Linked DNA regions of Homo sapiens: region 1 is linked to region 2. The links are contacts of gene promoters, found by promoter capture Hi-C in blood cells and fetal thymus (Javierre and others, 2016). All regions are on one chromosome and are shown on one strand. The core of a region is centred on a gene start or on the middle of the fragment in contact, and the rest is flanking DNA. Distances in the headings are between cores, read along the strand shown. Region 1 has its middle 24 kb from the start of MIR552. Region 2 holds the start of CSMD2 (CUB and Sushi multiple domains 2).

Region 1 (6,615 bases), core at 53-2,552, 530 kb after region 2:
CCATCTGTCTTATCACTCTTCTGGAGCCCCAGACTGCTGCCCTGTTCAGAGGCACTTAATTTCTCTACCATGAACATTATTTAATCTCCTCTTTTCCTGACTGTTACAAGACCCTGAAAACTCCCTCCCTTTTGAGCTGCCAGTGAACTGTTCGGGAATTCCTGCTAGCTTGTTCTGTAGAGCAATTTAGTTTAGAGCCTCCCCTTTCCAGACAATTCGAGGTGGAGGTAGGGAGTGAGCCTTCCCTTGAATAATCCAAAAAGCCTGACTATAGTGTTTTTGTTTTTTTTTTTAAACAAAAGAGCAGCCTTCCTTCTGTTGGGCACCTCCTCGCCCCACACCTGGAGTTTAAAAGTGGCTGTAGGCATTTCTATTTTTAAATAGCATTTTTCCCTGGCTAATACACATATGCAATACACAGAAACCCCTGGAAATTCCTTGAGTTTTTATTAAAAATTCCAGATGGTGCAGCAGAGATTTCAGACACTAAAGCTTCTGTTAACAACAGGAAATTAATAACCAAGCTGACTCAAAGTCAACATCGTCTGGTTTGATGACAATAACGTGAAAAAAAAGGAAGCAGGTAACACAGCATTTGAGGTGACACAGTGTCAGAGGCACAAGCTGCAGAATGAGCAAGGCCTGGGCTTGAATCTCACATCTCCCATTTATTAGTGGGGAAACCTCGGGGAAGTCACTTAACCACTCTGTGCCTGTTTCGTCATGTGCAAAACAGAAAAATAACAGGATAGCTCTGCTGTCATGCCTCGTAAGTGTTCCTAAAAGTCACCCGCTATGGATAAACAAAGTGTAGTATATACACACAATGGAAGATTATTCAGCCTTAAAAAAGAAGGAAATTCTGACCCATGCTACAACATGCGTGAACTTTGAGGACATTATGCTAAGTGAAATAAAACAGTCACAAAAGGACATATACCGTATGATTCCACTTATAGAGTAGTCAAATTTCTAGAGACTGGAAGTAGAATGGTGGTTGCCAGGAGCAGGGGAGAAGAGAAGTGGGGAGTTGTGAACTGGGTATAGAAGTTCAGTTTTTTTAAGATGAAAATAATTCTGTGGATGGATGGTGGTGACAGTAGCACCACAATATGAATGTCCTTAGTACCACTGAGCTGTATATTTTAAAATGGACACATTGGGCTGGGCATGGTGGCTCATGCCTATAATCCCAGCACTTTGGGAGGCCAAGGCAAGTGGATCACCTGAGGTCAAGAGTTCGGGACCAGCCTGGCCAACATGGTAAAACCCCATCTCTACTAAAAATGCAAAAATTAGCCGGGCACAGTGGCACATGCCTGTAATCCCAGCCACCCAGGAGGATGAGGCAGGATAATTGCTTGAACCGAAGAGGCTGAAGTTGCAGTGAGCTGAGATCATGCCAATGCACTCCAGCTTGGGCGACAGAGCAAGACTCTGTCAAAAAAAAAAAAAAAAAATCACAGTGAAAATTTTTATGCTGTGTCTTTTTATCACAATTTAGAAAAAAATAAAATAAAATAAAACAAAGAATCACCACACTGTGCAAAAACCACAGGGTTCATGAGAACAATGGAGTTGGGGTACAATGCTCATAAACTTCCTTCGGCGACACACGAAAAATAAAAGAAACCTAATAAAAAGGGTAACACGGTTTTACACATGTTAAATGCCATAAAAGACATACATAGACACTACAATAAGCATGACGCTACACACACTTCACTCTGTATGTGGAAGCGAGCTTCAGAATTACTGTCAGGTGGTGGGAGGAGGTAGATCTGGAGTCAGAAGGAAGGTTGTAGCATCCTGTGAGTGGCCATAACACACAGGAACTGAGAATGCTGGGAGATGTTTGAAGTGTGTCCATGTGTGTGTTATGTATATTCCTACACAGCTCAGTTCAACTGGGTGCAATTTTCTGCACTCACCTTGTGTTTCTCACACACCAAATCAGACATAAGCAAATGCAAAACTAACATGATGCTCAAATAGTTTCCTGACACATGGATCGCATTGAAACAAATTTGCATTTTCAAAATAAGCACCGTAGCCAAACAGACTGTATCTACCTGATGGAATTGTTACAAGGATTATGCGATTTAATGCAGATGAAGCTTTCAATAGTGCCCACCCCATGGTAACTGCTCAAAAATAATGCTAGTGACTGTGGTGTGTGGAACAATGGCAGTGGTTATTGTGGGGCCATAGCTATTTTTCATGTTACTACTCCAAAGGGAGTAGCCCAGAGATGGACGAAGGGAGACTGCATGCCCATTTTACAGATGACAGAACTAAGGCTCAAAGAATCTGAGAAATTTCTCAAGATCATACAAGAGTCTGGTACAAAGTGCACAGAAGTCTGGACCGCTGCACCCTTCTAGGTCAACAGAGGTGACCAGATGGTTTCTGCGAACTCCTGCAGGGGACATGGTCAAGTACCCAAATGTCTGCTTACACCCCAGAAAATAAGCTGGCATATAGAAAGGGGCAAGGAACCACAGCTGGAGAGCTCCTAGGCTTTAGGGAGCCTTTAATTAAAAACAAAAATGAAAAAACAGATATAGAACTTGTTTCGTGTTCCCTGGGTGCCTGGTGGTTTAATCACTTTGCTCAGGTCAACAGGCCTATCAGGAAAAGTCTCTCCACCTTCAGGGAATTTGAGCCCTTTTTAAAAGGCAAAGAAAATGGGTAAAACTTTCAGTTCTGTCTGAAAAAACAAGACTGACTTTTCTGGTGGTTCCTATTGACTTGGAAAGAGCACATCTGCCCGTCAAATGGCATTTTACCAGCTGATCAATTTGGTGTCATTCTCATTGAATTAAATCAAATTGAAATGTAATTCCCTTCCCGGAACAAATCCCCCTGCAGGGATTCGCTGCACAGAAGTGTTTGACCTTGTACTGGCTGCCTAGAGGGCTTTCCAGAAATCTAGGGGCATATGAGAGGTCTGCAGAGCTCACGGAGTGCTGGGCACAACCCACTCAGCTGACTTTCAGGCTGGACTTTGCAGGAATTAGAAAAAGCCTCCCCCACAAGGTGGTAAAATTACAAAATGCTGCCTCGTCTGGAAGGGAGAAGCTGCTCCTTCTTCTAGGCTTTGGCAGCCCCAAACCAGGCTGCAAAGGTTGGAGAGTATAAGTGAGCTGGTTTTTAACCCCAATCACCCCCCAGACTCAACTTACCCAACCACAGGCAGCAGCACTAGTCAGCTCCCATTGCGGCCACCATAGTAGGCTCAGCTCTGAGAGATCCCTGGAGCACAGGCTCAGCTCCGGCCAACACAGATGTGGCTCCAAGGATCCAGTGGCTCTTGGCTGAACTGGCTACAACTGTCTCTACCAAGCCTTGGGAGACCCTAAGTACAAGATCACAAAGCAATCTATGCCCAGAACTCCCCATGGAACCTGAGGCTGTGCACCTCTGACCTGTGACCCTCCTGTCCTTTATCCATCCCTTCACTCTGCCTTGGAAGTCAGAGGACCTGCCACCAAATCTCAGCTCTCCTGGGCCAGTGACTTAACCTCTCTGAGCTTCAGCCCCTCACTGTCAAAGCTACAGAAGCAATACCTGACAGCCACATGTGGAAGTGAGCGTGGGACCGAGAAGCAAGGCTGCCCTCTGAGAAAGAGGTTAGTAAAATCCACGCAGAATGATGAAATATGTTGTCTGTTGGCACAAACCAAGAGATGACCTGAAAATGTGACTGAACAGAGTTTGGGAAGACCCCAAAAGCCAATCATGGTGGCCTGGGTATGGTCACGGGGAGGCAAGACTTTGGGAGGGGGTGATGGTAATTGAGTAAGCAGAAACCTAATTAACTAAATCAGTTGACAAAAGACTGCGTGAACAGAGAGAACATGCCTAGCCTGGAGCAGAGACAAGGGGAGCCCAAGGAGCCAGAAGTTGGCCATATTTATTCTGCAATAAATTCACAAAGTTGATGCCAGGCTCAAAGGCCTCTTAGCAGCCAACCTATCAGCCTCCTCTTAGAAATGCCCAACCTCTCATCAACCCTTTTCAAGCTGCAACAATCCTTAGTCCCAGGGTTGTCATAAGGATTAAACAGGGAAGTGCCTGGGACATAGCAGGTGGCAAATGAACTAACATTCCCCTCTCACTCGGTTCCCTTTTTTCCTACAATAATAACCAATGTCAAGTCATTCTAGCCACACAAGCATTTTCTCCTAGATTTTCCTGAGGTCCCTGCTCTTCCATTCCCTGGTCCAACTATCTTCTCCGCATATATCCACCCATCCCACCTCCTTCCTCTATGCCCTGTGGGTTGACGCTTTTACTGTCAAGGAACTCCTCTCTGCTCTAAATCTAGTGGGAAACGAAAATTAGTGAACTAATCACAGAAATATCTACTTACAACTGGCGCCAAGTGTTCTGAAGGAAAGGTGGGAGCATAGGTAGTGGGTGCTGTGGTGTGCCCCCCAATCCTCCCTTCAGGGCTGAGACACTTATTCCCAACTGCCAAGGGTATTGGATGCTGGCAGCTCTCACTTGAGTCTTCCTCAAGAATTGCCCTCAGCCCTTAACAGCCACCTTGCAAAGACCAAGCCCCATCCCTGGGGTATGTCATTGCCAATGACCAGTAAATGCAGTCACGGGAAAGCTACTGGGTGGTCCCAGCTCCACAGCTCCTTAAGGAATTGATGTTGGCCTTGATTATGACATTATCACAGCTCTACCACTCCACCTGCTCATTCTCACTCCCACCTCATACCCTGTGGGTGTCGGTTCCATGCACACAGGTCCCTGTCCTGGAATCTGTCCCAGAAGGAACAACAAAGACAACATGTCAAAGAAGGATTGCTCTAGTTGGTGGCCGGGGATGAGGGGAATGTTTGATGGTCACAGAAAGCTTCCCTAATAAAAAATGGGTACATTTGAGTGGAAATCCAAAGAATAAGGAGTTATCTAGACGAAAAAAAGAGAGGAAAGATGTTCTAGGCAGAGGGAACAGAATGTGGGAAGACCCTGAGACAAGAAGGACATTTCAAGGCAGTGTGGCTGGAACACTGAGCATGAGAGAAGTCAGGGGAGCAAGGACAGTGAGGATGGAAAGGTTGGCATGGGCTGGATCAGGCAGGGCTGAGCAGGCTGAGTTAGGACACAGTCTGACCCAAGGAAAACGTTCTGATCCGTGATTGTATTAGTTTGCCGGTGCTGCCATAACAAAATGCCACAGACTAAGTGGCTTAAACAACAAGAATTTACTCCTCACAGTTCTGGAGGCTGGAAGTCCAAGATCAAGGTGTCGGCAGGGTTGGTCTCCTCCAAGGCCTCTCTCACTGGTTGCAGATGGCCACCCTCTTGCCGCCCTTTTCATATACACGGTCATCCATCTGTGCACGCCACCCCTGGTGTCTCTTTGCCTCCAAATTTCTTTTTATGAGGACGTCAAGTAGATGGGATTAGGGCCTGCTCTAATGGCCTCATTTTAACTTAATCTCCTCTTTAAAGGTCCTATCCCCAAATACTGTTACATTCTGAGTACTGAGGGTTAGGATTTCAGCATATGAATTTGGTGGGGTGGGCACAGCTCAGCTCATGACAGTGATGTTATCTGTCAGCAAGATCTTATACATGTATAAAACTGAAACCTCAATGAATTAAAACTGTAAATAACCACCTTTGTTGAAAATTAATTAACATTTTATTGCGCCTGTCCTAGAAAACACCAAAACATATGCTTGCGCATGTGTATATGTCATTTCCACCACATCCCCACCAGCACCCTCCACTGCCCCTGAACCTGCGGTCCCAATCCCCACCTTTATTCACAGATCCCTCCTTCCTCTCTGCCCCTGTCCCAGGCTGGCTGCCTGCCAAGTACTGCTGGAGAAAATCAAATAACTGTGCTGATCCACTCCATTACAGATTCGCGGTCTCCAGCTTTGGCTAGGCTCTCCTCTGCCCTCCAATCCTCCTGTTCACTCCCGGACTTGTCCATTTCCCATTCTGCTCCACAGTTGTGCCAACCCTTTCCACCCTCTGCCAGTCTCACTGACCCACCGCTGCCCCTCCCTCTCTGAAGACCATCTGTCCTACTTTACAGAGGAAGGACAGGTCATGAGGCTGCTGCCCACTTTCTTTCCTTGCCCCCTCCTAATTTTTTCACAGCTAACTAGAGGAAGAAAGATGTGGAAGAAAGAAAGCAAGGATTGGTTCCAGAGAGTCCCACCATGCACGACCTTCCTTCTTGGGCAAGTTATCTCCACCTCCTTGTGACTCAGTTTCTTTATCTGTGAAAAGTCAGTGCTCCAAGATGAAAGATTATCACGCTTAGAACAAAATCCAAACTCTTTACCATGGCCAGCAAAGGGGACACCATGCAACCCGGCCCTGTCTACTCTCACCCCATCAGCCACTCCTCTCCCCCGGCTCACACTGCTCCAGTCACCTTGACTTTTGTCTATTCCTGAAACATGCCAAGCTCATTTCTGCCTCAGGGGTTTTGCACATGTGGTTCCCTCTGCCAGATCTTGGCATGACTCATTCCCCTACAGGCAGTTCATGACCAGTGCAGCCTCCTCAGCACAGCAAGGCCTTCCCTGATGACCCCAACAAAACCAGCACCTCCCTCCATTTTTTTCTAATCTCTTT
Region 2 (6,487 bases), core at 2,933-5,432:
TTCGAGAATAATTGAGGATATGAAACTGACAGAATTTGATGACCATATGATAAGGAAGGAGTTGAGGATAATCCAAAGGTTTCTGGGCTCCATAACTGGGAGGCTACAGGAACCACCAGCTCACAAAGGAAATACGGGAGGCTTAAGAAAGAAGCTAATAAGATTGCTCTGGAAGGGAAATATCTAAGTGAAGATGTCCAAGGATCAGCTGGATACATGGGTTACCTAGACCCAGAATTCCCATGGACCAGGAAGCCAATAGATGAATTTCAGGAGAGATGTCTTGGCAGAAGAGATCTGTCTGGAAGCTTCAGAGTGTGGTAGTGAAAGGGTTGGGCAAGGATGAGCTCACCCAGAGAGTGGTGAAAAGGAATGGGAAAAAGTACAAAGAATTAAATGCTGCAGGACACTATACTTCAGGGAGGGGAATAAGTGTTAGTATTAGAGACTGAGAAGGAACACGCAAGAGATAGGAGAAAAATCAGTAAAACATAGTGTCCCAGAAGCCCAAGGAAGAGAAATTCATCCAAAGTGGCCACAGCCACAGAGAGATAAAAGAAAATAAAGATAAAGTACAATGTATTTGGCAATTGAGGTGGTCATTGGTGCTCTCTTCTAGAGTGTTCCAGTGTCATCCTGGAGACAGAGGTTGAAGTAAGGAGTGACGGGTAGTAGAGAAAACTGACATGAAGACCCCTTTGAAGAGAAGTGACTAAAAGACAAAAAGAGATGGGGCAGTGGCTTAGATAGGTCAATAGGGCCAAGAAGGCTTCTTGGCTTGTTTTGTGGTAAAGATGAGCCTGTTCACAGGTCAAAGGGAAATGTGTTTTAAGAAGGGAGGGTGGCCAGGTGCGGTGGATCACGCCTGTAATCCCAGCACTTTGGGAGGGCAAGGTGGGCAGATCATGAGGTCAGGAGTTCGAGACCAGCCTGACCAACATGGAGAAACCCCCCTTCTCTATTAAAAATACAAAATTAGCTGGGCATGGTGGCATGCGCCTGTAATCACAGCTACTCAGGAGGCTGAGGCAGGAGAATCACTTGAACCCGGGAGGCAGAGGTTGCAGCAAGCCGAGATTGCGCCATTGCACTCCAGCCTGGACAACAAAAGAGTGAAACTCCCTCTCAAAAAAAAAAAAAAAAAAAAGGGAGGATGATTGATAGGGACAGCAGGTAATTGGTGGGAAGTCTCCAGGGAGGCTGGGGTGGGGAGGGGGAGGGGGAGTGCAAGGCAGGACAAGGACTAAAGGGGTTGAGGGGAGAAGGTATGGGTGGGTGAGGAGACTCCCCTTTTTCAAACTATTTTATTCATTTATCCAGTGATCACTGAGCCGAGGAAGGGAGACGGTTCAGTCCTGAGCATCTTTTAAATTCAACAGTGTGAACTGAACACAAAATGAATGTGTTTCCCCTTCTAATGTACCAAATCCTGCCGATCTTCTGTCACCAAGTCCATTTCCAAATCTCTGCTGCCTGCAAGGCCAAACAGCCCATCTAAAGGCGGGAAAGGCTTAAAAAGAAATGTACTGGGCTGGGCGCGGTGGCTCACATCTGTAAGCCCAGCACTTTGGGAGGCAGAGGCAGGCGGATCACCTGAAGTCAGGAGCTCGAGACCAGCCTGGCCAACATGGTGAAACCCCATCTCTCCTAAAAATACAAAAATTAACCGGGCGTGGTGACGGTCGCCTGTAATCCCAGCTACTCGGAAGACTGAGGCAGGAGAATCGCTTGAACCCAGGAGGCGGAGGTTGCAGTGAGCTGAGACCGCGCCATTGCACTCCAGCCTGGGCGAGAAGAGCAAAACTCCGTCTTAAAAAAAATTTAAAAAGAAAGAGAAGAAAAGAAAAGAAATGTACTGGAAGCTTGCAAGCCAGAGCAGGGCCTGCCGGAGAGGAACTACCCCAAGCCATGAACACAAGGCCCCCTCCCCGCAACTTCTCTACTGAGCAAGGAGCTGCGAGCAAATGGATCTCTATAGGGCAGGATTCCAGCACCGCTGAGCGGTGCAAGCGCCGGTGAGTCGGCCTTTTTCTCTCCCCTAGGGGCAGGATATGCCCAAGGGGCAGGGACAAATCTAGCCAGAAAAACAATTCAGTCCGATGCCGAGACATTCTCCAATCAGCTAAGCCAGAGACCGGCCTCGCCTCAACGTACGTCCGGGAGGCCTGGCGGGAGGTAGCAGCGATTCCCCCACCGCCCATGTGGCAAGTCTGGGTGACCAGCAGCGTCGGTATGCACAGCCTCCCAGTGGGTGTGGGTGTGCGAGAGGCCAGAGCTCCCAGGCGCGCGCACCGCGGGCGCCCCTCTCTGGGTGTCGGTGGCTATGACTCTTAGCAGAACCTAAGAAAGTCCCGTCAGCTAGGAATGAGAGAGCCAGAGCTGGCTCGGGGCGCCCTCCCTGACCAAGAACCCCAACATGCCGCGGTTAAGCGGTGGGCGACACGGTCTGCGAGGACAGACTCACAAGACGCTGAAGGCCAGAGTGGGCCAGAGAGCTCGCCACTCACTGACCTGCCAGAGGAGAGGCGCACTTTCCCAAGAAGGGGAACTGGGGTGGTCCAGGCCAAGCCTTCAGAGGTTCAATCGGTGGTTTCAAAACAAAACAAAACAAAACAAAAACAAAAACAAAAAAGAAAACACGGCTCCAGGTCGAAGGTGCCCTAGGTCTAGGCCTGGCCAGCAGGTGTTTCGGTTTCTCCCCCAGTGGGTGTCAGCCTCGCGGGCTAAATGAAAATGCGGTTCCAGGCATCCCGGTTTGGACCCGTCTCCACCCGGGCACACGGAACTTTCTAGCTTGTAGCTAGAACTGAGCTTCGGAGGGGTGCTGTGGGTAAAGCGGGAGGGCACCAGTCGCGGCCAGTAGCCTCCACAGGGGACCGGGTTCCCTCGAAGGTTCGCGTACCTCCCCCGCGCGCTGCAAGCTGCAGCCAGACACCCGCGAAGTTCCGGGACTCTCCGCACCCGCTAGATCTGCCCCTTCCCGGACTCGGTCGTCGGGAGCTGGTCCCGCCGCCCGCGCCGCCGCTGCCGCTGCCGCAGCCGAGGCGCTCGGCTGCAGCAGGGCGCGGGAAAGGGCACTTTGGCGCGGAGTGAGCACCGAGGGGAATGTGGCAGCGCGAAGCCTGGCGGCGGCACTCCCTCCCCCGCCTCGGGCTACAACCCCCACCCCCTCCTTCCCATCCCTCAACACCCTCCAGCCCCCACCTGCACCCTCCTGCAAGGAATGCGCGGGACCCCCACCGTGGGCACGCGTCCACCTGAACCCCCTCCTAGCTCCGAGCGCCGAGGGAGGGGTAGCATTTGAGGAGGGGGATGGCGGCCGCAGTCTGCAGTCGGTTCCAGAGGGGGCACCGGTTTCAATTGGAGAAAATGGGCGGGGGCAGGGAAGGGCAGACCTTGCAGACGCAGAAATGGGGAGGGGGCGCACGGTTCCTCTCCAGCCCCCAGGACCAGCGTGCCTGGCAGAATCAGGAGCCGGGGGAGTAGGGCTCCCGGAAAGTTTATCGGGAAAAAGCCTAGCACCGTGGGGGCTGGGAGGCTGGAGAAACTGAAGCCACAGACCAGGTGCCCCGCAACCCCGGGCGGGGATGTCTGTCTCCCAGGCCCCCACACCGGCCGCATCCGTCCAAGTTGCGGCTGGGGTTGGGGCAGCAGTGAGGGTGAGGGTGGAGGTGAGGACGTGGCTGAGGGTGGGGTGGGAGACGGAGGCAGGGATGAGAATGAGAGTAGGCAACTGGGAGGGTGGGAGATTCAGGCAGGGATAGAGGCGGGGGGAGGGACTGGGACCGGGTCGAGGATGGGTGGGCTCGGGGCTCGGGTGGGGCGCGCGGCGGCCGCTGGCTCCTCGGCGCGGCTGGACTCACCCGCGGCGGCCGAGACGCTGAGCAACCCACAGCCCAGCAACAGCAGCAGAGGCGGCGGCGTTGGCGGCGGCGGGCGGCCCCAGCGGCTCCCGGCGCCCGGCACAAGCGCCGAAATCCCGGTTTCGCCGCGAGCCCTCCCCGCGGGGCAGCCGCAGCGCCCCAGCTCCCGTCCCCGCGAGCGCGGCATGGCGCGGCCGGCAGCGCCGAGGGAGAGGCTCCGCTCGCCGCCGAGGAGAAAGGAGGTCAGGAGAGCTCTGGAGCTTTTTTCTGCTCGGAAAAAATCCCGGTACGCGGGAGCCCTGAGCTTCTGCGGCTGGAATGAACCAAGTGTCCGCCCGGCCGGGGAGAGGCGCGCTGCGCTCTCGGAAATGACTCGCTCCAATCCCGCTTCGCGGGGTTCGCGCCGGGGGGCGGGAGGGGGTGAATTATCCCCGGATTAATCACTCCGGAGCCGCTTCTCCGCCGCTCCAAATGCTGGGGGTGGAGGCGCAGCTAAGGATAAAATATTGGGGGGCGGGGGTTCCTCTTCAGCGCCACCTCCACCTCCAGATAAACCACAAATTACATCTAAAGGGTTGTTTATCCGTGTCTGTTTTGCAATTGACCAGTTTCTTTTAAGTTCAGTCCTCCTGTTTTCATTTATAACATCACCCATTAATACACCCCCCTCTCCACACACACACACACAAACACACACACACACACACAGTGACAGAGACACACGCACTCACACACACAGGCACATACACGCACACCTCTTCCACGTTTGGAAATTGGAATCCTGTCTGGGAAAAGGTAACCAAAGAAGGACGCGTTCCCCAAGTCTTGGCTCTTACCAGCTGATCTTGGGTGGTGGCTTTGAACTTGCCATCTAGGGCCGGGGGCGATGCTTATGAGCCTCATTCACAATAGCCTCCTACCCCATCCCAGGAGAGGGGCGTGTGTGCGTAGACAGAGGCAGGGTTAAGAATTGGAGGGCGGTGGAGGGGGGTTGTGTGTGGGGTGGGGAGGGGGGGGAACCGGTTCATTTGACCCAGTGCGGTCCCACTCCTACCCTAAGACAAAAATCTCAGGGTGGCAGAGGCGGTCCCTGTGTGCACGCGAGTTGGGGGTGGGGAGTGAGGTTGGTGGAAGGACGGTGCAAGAGTTACTAGTACAATTTATCCCCAAATTTAAATAATCGGATCCTACTTCTTCTTCTCCCCTTCCTCCTCCCAGCCAAGGCCCCAAACCAAGAGAGTTCTTCCCAAGGACGTGAGCTGCTCCCCACCTCTCCCCAGTAGCGGCTGCCTCTAGGCCCCAAGGGCTTAGTGTCGGTCCCCACCCCATCCCCCACCCGACTCGGTCGCCGTCTCTGTCTCGTCTACTCCAGGCTTCTCCGCCAGTCACGATGGCTCCTTCGCTGTCTACGCCAAACTCTCGGCGAGAGGGAAGAGACGCTTCATGGGGGGAGGCTGGAGGAAACTGGGAGGGGCAAGGTCCAGAGAGGAGGCTTCTGCTGGCGCGTGCAGTGGAAAGGCACCTGCGATGGGCACCCCCGCCCCCTTTGCCGACACACCCCAGAGAAGCTGTGCTCCGGGCTTAGGGCAGCCTGATTTGGCCAAAACGGAGCGTTGGCATCTGTGTGGCCAAGGGGGCAGTGGCCGGCGGGCGGTGGGGCCTGAGAATTTCCGGGGAAGGGTGTGGAGAGGGACTGTAGGGATGGCGAGCCAGGCTGGGGGTGGCTGGCGACCCAGGTTGGCCGGCTGTCAGCGTGGCCAGGAATTTCCATCCAAGGAAGGGTGTGAAGAGGGGCTGTGGAGTTGACGATATGAATTGGGGGGCGGGGGCAGGGCTGGAGGAGTGGAGGCTTGTCCCTACTCCCCATGAAAAACTTCCTCCCCAGAGCCACGCTTTCGCAGCCTCCTAGATGCCACTCTTCCTCCCTCCCCCCACCCCAAGTTGTTCCGGTTTCCCTGCATGAGCTCATCCCACAGCTGGGGAGCCAGCCCGGTGGCCCTGGGCGGGCGAATCTCCTCAGAATCGCGGGCCTGGTCCCCACCCCCAACACGCTTGTATGCCCGCCCCTCCCGACGCCGCCTTGCTGGGTGCCAAGAACCAACCGAAGCAGCCAGAACTCCTCAGTGAAAGGCCTGCTTTATGTTCCCGGGGCAGTGAGGAGGGGGCTTCTCCCTTCCCATTGTCCAGACTCAGCCCCCGAAAGAGAGGGCTCAGCCTTCCCACCAGCCCTGGAGAGGAGGAAGGGACTGACTACGCCAGCAGTGAGTGGTGGTGGTGGCCTTGGGGGCTGTTAGCTGGGCTTGCCTGGGGGTGGGCTCCTGGCTTCTAAGCTCCGACTTTACCCCTCTCTTGGAGGCGGGGTTCTCCTCCAGAGAAAGGAACTGGCAGAGATGCCCAGGCCTCCTGTGCAGCCCACAGCTGGGCAGAAGAGAGTCTGGGCTGCTCTGTAATTCTGGGGCTGCAGGCCAATGGGCTTTCTCTTACCCTCTTCTCAGCTCCAGAACTTTGCTCTGTGGCTGCAACGGGCAGATGAGATTTACCCCCAGAACTTTCCCGGGCAAAAGGAGCGTTTGTCATCCTTCTCCCTGGGGGCTGTGGAGGGCAGGGCACCTATTTTATCCCTG

The links. The method cuts DNA at HindIII sites, captures the fragments that hold promoters and counts their contacts. A CHiCAGO score of 5 or more calls a contact.
Region 1: a contact is called between a fragment that was not itself captured here and the fragment with the promoter of CSMD2 in region 2, in 1 of 17 cell types (M1 macrophages). The highest score is 5.2, in M1 macrophages.

What each region holds. Positions count from the first base shown.
Region 1 is chr1:34,689,921-34,696,535 of GRCh38, forward strand. No RefSeq gene overlaps it. Among named protein-coding and RNA genes, the nearest start is that of MIR552, 24 kb to the left of the region's middle. The HindIII fragment of the contact is 1,625 bases long and covers 491-2,115 here.
Region 2 is chr1:34,161,048-34,167,534 of GRCh38, forward strand. It overlaps CSMD2 (CUB and Sushi multiple domains 2), which reads right to left and starts at 4,183. Exons shown (of 71, transcript NM_001281956.2): 1 at 3,864-4,183. The coding sequence starts at 4,050. It also overlaps a transcript of C1orf94 not described here. RefSeq lists enhancers at 2,084-2,213, 2,634-2,693. The HindIII fragment of the contact is 6,831 bases long and covers 1,861-6,487 here.